2 separate regions of the Homo sapiens genome follow, and region 2 is linked to region 1. The links are contacts of gene promoters, found by promoter capture Hi-C in human tissues and cell types (Jung and others, 2019). All regions are on one chromosome and are shown on one strand. The core of a region is centred on a gene start or on the middle of the fragment in contact, and the rest is flanking DNA. Distances in the headings are between cores, read along the strand shown.

Evidence for each region. The method cuts DNA at HindIII sites, captures the fragments that hold promoters and counts their contacts. A contact is called where the count stands out against the background at its distance.
Region 2: a contact is called between the fragment with the promoter of AOC2 here and a fragment that was not itself captured in region 1, in 3 of the 25 tissues and cell types used here (IMR-90 fibroblasts, lymphoblastoid cells and mesenchymal stem cells).

What each region holds. Positions count from the first base shown.
Region 1 is chr17:42,972,444-42,975,593 of GRCh38, reverse strand. All of the region lies in intron 4 of PTGES3L-AARSD1 (PTGES3L-AARSD1 readthrough), which reads left to right. All of the region lies in intron 4 of PTGES3L (prostaglandin E synthase 3 like), which reads left to right. Among named protein-coding and RNA genes, the nearest start is that of PTGES3L, 6.1 kb to the left of the region's middle. RefSeq lists an enhancer at 2,399-2,965. The HindIII fragment of the contact is 3,653 bases long and covers 1-3,150 here.
Region 2 is chr17:42,843,007-42,845,957 of GRCh38, reverse strand. AOC2 (amine oxidase copper containing 2) reads right to left here and starts at 1,378. Exons shown (of 4, transcript NM_009590.4): 1 at 1-1,378. The coding sequence starts at 1,331. PSME3 (proteasome activator subunit 3) reads right to left here. Exons shown (of 11, transcript NM_005789.4): 11 at 2,198-2,951. The HindIII fragment of the contact is 18,620 bases long and covers 1-2,951 here.

The DNA of each region.
Region 1 (3,150 bases), core at 287-2,786:
CACTTGCTCCTTTTCATTACCTCCCTGACTCTCTTGGGTATTTGAGCGTTTGATTTCCTGCCCTTTAGGTTGAGATCCGTTACATAACACACTAGCACATCCCACACTCTCTGCCCCAAGCTTTATCTTCTAGCCACAGCAGACTGTTGTGTTTTGTTTGTTTTGCAAAAACCAGGCTGTTTCTCACCTCTGTACCTTTGCTCAAGGTATGCCTTCTTCCTGAAAAGTTACCATCATTACTACCTTCACCCACCCAATCCCTGTGCATCCTTCAAAGCCCTGCCACTCCAGAAACCTGGGTTCTTGTGACTCCTTTTGGGGTTCCCATGATGTCCCCTATATAACTCCACCACCACACTTTTCACACTGTATTATAGTGCTTTATTTATATCTCCCTCCCCAGCTTGCTTCCAAGTGGCTGGGACAGTGTGTTGACCTTTTTTTTTTTTTTTTTTTTTGAGACAGGATGTCGTACTGTTACTCAGGCTGGAGTACAGTGGCATAATCAAGGTTCACAGCAGCGTTGCCCTTCTGGGCTCAAGCAATCCTCTCACCTTAGCCTCTTGAGTAGGTGGAACAACAGAAGTGTGCCACCATGCCTGGCTAATTTTTGTATTTTTTGTAGAGATGGGGTTTTGCCATGTTGCCCTAGGCTGGTCTCGAACCCCTGGGCTCAAGCAATTGATGTGCCTTGGCCTCCCAAAGTGCTGTGATTATAAGTGATAGCCACTGCGCCCGGCCAGAACATTTTTATAAACCCAGTGCCAAGCTGAGAGTCTGTCCATAGTATGTGTTCAATAAATTTTTTTTTTTTTTTTTTTGAGACAGAGTCTCACTCCATCGCCCAGGTTGGAGTACAGTGGCGTGATCTCGACTCACTGCAACCTCCACCTTCCGGGTTCCAGTAATCCTCCTGCGTTAGTCTCCTGAGTAGATGGGATTACAAGTGCCCACCAGCATTCCCAGCTAATTTCTGTATTTTTAGTAGAGATGGGGTTTCACCATGTTGGCCAGGCTGGTCTCAAACTCCTGACGTCAAGTGATCCACCTGCCTCAGCCTCCCAAAATGCTGGGATTACAGATGTTAGCCACTGCACCTGGCCAATAAATATCTTTTGAATGAAGGAGTGAATAACTTCTTCCCTGTATAAATGTGGAAACTTTGGAACATGGACCTTGAAGGGCTGTCTCTGACTCCATGGAATGCAGCTTGTCTTTTTTTTTTTTTTTTTCGAGACAGAGTTCCACTCTTGTTGCCCAGGCTGGGGTGCAGTGGCGCGATCTCAGCTTACTGCAGCTTCCACCTGCCAGGTTCAAGCAATTTTCCTGCCTCAGCCTCCCAAGTAGCTGGGACTAGAAGCATGTGCCACCATGCCCAGCTAATTTTGTATTTTTAGTAGAGATGGGGTTTTACCATGTTGGCCAGGCTGGTCTCGAACTCCTGACCTCAGGTGATCCACCCACCCTGGCCCCGCAGAGTGCTGGGATTACAGGTTGTGTGAGCCACTGCGCCTGGCTGCAGCTTGTCTGTCTTATTGGTTGACTCCTATGTTGCTTTATTTTTTTTTATTTTTATTTTTATTTTTTTTTAATTTATTTTTTTATTGATAATTCTTGGGTGTTTCTCACAGAGGGGGATTTGGCAGGGTCATGGGACAATAGTGGAGGGAAGGTCAGCAGATAAACAAGTGAACAAAGGTCTCTGGTTTTCCTAGGCAGAGGACCCTGCGGCCTTCCGCAGTGTTTGTGTCCCTGATTACTTGAGATTAGGGAGTGGTGATGACTCTTAACGAGCATGCTGCCTTCAAGCATCTGTTTAACAAAGCACATCTTGCACCGCCCTTAACCCATTTAACCCTGAGTGGACACAGCACATGTTTCAGAGAGCACAGGGTTGGGGGTAAGGTCACAGATCAACAGGATCCCAAGGCAGAAGAATTTTTCTTAGTGCAGAACAAAATGAAAAGTCTCCCATGTCTACTTCTTTCTACACAGACACGGCAACCATCCGATTTCTCAATCTTTTCCCCACCTTTTCCGCCTTTCTATTCCACAAAGCCGCCATTGTCATCCTGGCCCGTTCTCAGTGAGCTGTTGGGCACACCTCCCAGACGGGGTGGTGGCCAGGCAGAGGGGCTCCTCACTTCCCAGTAGGGGCGGCCGGGCAGAGGCGCCCCTCACCTCCCGGACGGGGCGGCTGGCCGGGCAGGGGGCTGACCCCCCCCACTTCCCTCCCGGACGGGGCGGCTGGCCGGGCGGAGGGGCTCTTCACTTCCCAGTAGGGGCCGCCGGGCAGAGGCGCCCCTCACCTCCCGGACGGGGCGGCTGGCCGGGCGGGGGGCTGACCCCCCCACCTCCCTCCCGGACGGGGCGGCTGGCCGGGCGGGGGGCTGACCCCCCCCCACCTCCCTCCCGGATGGGGTGGCTGCTGGGCAGAGACGCTCCTCACTTCCCAGATGGGGTGGCTGCCGGGCGGAGAGGCTCCTCACTTCTCAGACGGGGTGGTTGCCAGGCAGAGGGTCTCCTCACTTCTCAGACGGGGCGGCCGGGCAGAGACGCTCCTCACCTCCCAGACGGGGTCGCGGCCGGGCAGAGGCGCTCCTCACATCCCAGATGGGGCAGCGGGGCAGAGGTGCTCCCCACATCTCAGACGATGGGTGGCCGGGCAGAGACGCTCATCACTTCCTAGATGTGATGGCGGCCGGGAAGAGGCGCTCCTCACTTCCTAGATGGGATGGCGGCCGGGCGGAGACGCTCCTCACTTTCCAGACTGGGCAGCCAGGCAGAGGGGCTCCTCACATCCCAGACGATGGGCGGCCAGGCAGAGACACTCCTCACTTCCCAGACGGGGTGGCGGCCGGGCAGAGGCTGCAATCTCAGCACTTTGGGAGGCCAAGGCAGGCGGCTGGGAGGTGTAGGTTGTAGCGAGCCGAGATCATGCCACTGCACTCCAGCCTGGGCACCATTGAGCACTGAGTGAACGAGACTCCGTCTGCAATCCCGGCACCTCGGGAGGCCGAGGCTGGCGGATCACTCGCGGTTAGGGGCTGGAGACCGGCCCAGCCAACACAGCGAAACCCCGTCTCCACCAAAACCAGTCAGGCGTGGCGGTGCGTGCCTGCAATCGCAGGCACTCGGCAGGCTGAGGCA
Region 2 (2,951 bases), core at 129-2,628, 130 kb after region 1:
TGATTTTGAAGGTAATTGTGGTGCCTTCGAAGGGGCAGTCCCTGGGCTTCCTCAAATACACACACAGCCCCTGGAAGCAGCTGGACTGCCCCTTTGCCCACTAATATATGGATGTCCACCATCGTGGCTTGATAGGGGCAGTCCACTCCCCGCACCAAGCCTCGGCTGTTACGGCCGAGTCCAAAGCTGCTATCCAAATAGCGAGTCAGCATCGTCTTGGGTGAATCGGCACCATAGATAGATACACACTCCTGGACACTGACTTCATAGGCTATTCGCTCACCCTGGAACCGAACATCAAAAATCCTCAGGCCGCTGAACACCCCATGGCCAAAGGTAAATGACCAGAGGGAGGATACCACCAGGTTTCCTTGCACACTGTACTGGGAACCCTGGGGCGAGAACTGAAGAGGGGGAAGAGGACCTGGAGAGTTCCGAGACCTCAGGGATGAAGCTCCATTTGGTGGAGGTAGAGGGACTCTAACCACTTCCAACCGGCCAGACTTAAACTCCCGTTCCAACTGGCCCAAGTCTGCATAGTAGTGCCCAAGGTAGAAGACCTGCTGGACAGTCCAGTGGGCAGGGTCCAGGGCCCTGTGGTCCAGTAGTAGCTCCAGCCCCACGGGGTGAAGGAAAAGACCAACCCCTGAGATGTTATGGTAGAGGGCCATCCAGGTAGCTCGGTCCCCTGAGCGCAAGCCCCGAGGGGTGGCATGCACAGCTGCCAGGGTAGAGCCATTGTAGTTGAAGGTGGACGACAGGAAGATGGGTGCCTTGGGTAGCTCCACCTCTTTCAGATGCCTCCACATCTGTGTAAACTCAGCTCTCAGCACCGGGCGACGGTGATAGGGCAGGGGCCCGCCGTGACGCTCCACAGTCACATCCCGCATGTACGAGGGGTGAGGCAGCGGCCCCACCACCAGCTCACTCACATTGGGTTGGGGTTGTCCACCAAAGAGGACGATGGCCAGTGCCTCCCGGGCAGGTGGGGGGCTCCCCCTGTCCAGGTGGGCCAGGGCTGCAGCCTTGGGGGGCAGCTGCAGCTCCACTGAGAAGATGCAGTTGTCCGAGGGCTGAGCCTGGGCTGCGTCCACCAGCCCTGGCCCCAGCCGCTGGGTCAGAAAGCGCATCACAGCTGTCAACTCCTCTCGGCTCAGGTCTGCAAACAGCTGGCTCTGGCCAGGGTGTGGCCAGGGCTGGGCCCTATGGGATACAGAGGGGCAGTGGGGAGGCTGGCTGGAACCACCTGGGCTGGTCAGCAAAACATAGGCCAGGGCAAAGATGGTAATGAGGGACAGTGCCAGGAACGCCAGGACTATCTTGAGATGCATGGTGGATGCTGAGAGCTGAAATCAGAATTCTAACAGCTGCTCCTTCCAGTTACTGACATCAAGTCGGGGTTTATATTCGCTAGGATGGATAGGAAGGGAGAAAACTCCACCCCATGGGTTGGGCAGGAAATTTCTGACCTTGATTTATGTAATTCTGTTCCAATTTTCTGTCCTGTGGTTTGGCCCAGGGCACTGCTTCCACATGCATAGCCTCTTCCTTGCCCCTGAACTCCCACTGGTAGCAGTCAGTACCAACTACTGATTTCCATCATTTAGACCAGATGAAAGGGAATCTGGGTTAACGATGCTAACCTCCAGTTTCCACCTGGAATGGGTCTCAGGAAGAGTACAAACCTCAGATGCCCAATTAAGTTCTGCAGCCTGCATGCAAGCACTAAGCTGTCCATTTTCCTACCTCCTGGCAGGAACTGCATCCCAACAGCTCCAGGATTCACTGCCATGTTCAGCAGTAAGCACTGAATTCTACTTGTTGCCTAATGCCAAGCCCTTGATTTGTAGTCAGGCCATTTCCAACCAGTGGAGTGGCTGAGGGCCTGGGCTTAGTAATCAGGTTTGTCCACCAATCCCAGTTCCCTCAGCTGTGTAACCTTAGCGGAAATACTTATCCTGAGTCTCAGTGTCCTCATCTGTAACAAATAGATACAACTATCCTATAGATTCCTGAAGATTAAATGTGATCATGCACATTAGGTACTTAACAGCCTGGCACAGGGGAGGCACTCACAAACCGCTAGCTTTTGGTAGTCATCTCTGAAACAGAACAGAGCAGCTGCTCCTCCATTGTTCAAGACCTTAAACTCTTTTTACAGAGACAACGAGGGGATCATTGGAAACCAGAAGGCTACTTGCAAGGTGGAAGATGAGGAAACTTTATTTCAGAGGGAGATAGATTCCTAGGCAGCCCTCCAAGTAATTTGAAAACCAAAACTAGGAGTCTCCTCAAGAAACTGAAGACATTATTCAGGAAGAATTAGTATAAGGTAAAGAAAATGACTGGGTAGGACGCGCCTTGAACCAGTTCATTCCTTACACATGGAACGATAGCAGCCTCTACTGGCAGTTCATGGGTATCACTCGGGAAGGAAGGAACTAGGATCTTCTGAAAGTAGGGAGAGAAGGCAGCTTAGGTCTGGGAAGAGCTAACTTTCCCATAATTCAGACTGAACACAAATGAAGCACCCAACCTTGCTCAGTAGGCAGAAGCCTCAGTCTTTCCACTATACTGGGGAAAAGATTCAGCTCAACTGGCATAAGGACACACAACAGGGTGGCTAGGTGTCCATGGAGGTGGGTGTCCAAGCGTGCACACATATGAGCATGAGTACATCCCTAGCCACCAGAGCATTGCACCAGGGTCTGCGGCTTTAGAAAGAGGTCAAAGTACCTGTATTTTTAATAATTTCTTGACATGGTAAAAGAATTTTACATTACGATCCATGGGTGATAGGGTGAGGAGGAGGGGCAGTGGAACAGTCCAACAAACGAAACGGGAAACTGAGAAACACATGGAGGGAAGGGGGAAGGGTTTTAGCTGGAAGGGATCTGGAGGGTGGGTGGGAGCACTGCCCAACTAAAATGCAATTGGTTTGTTACTGAGTA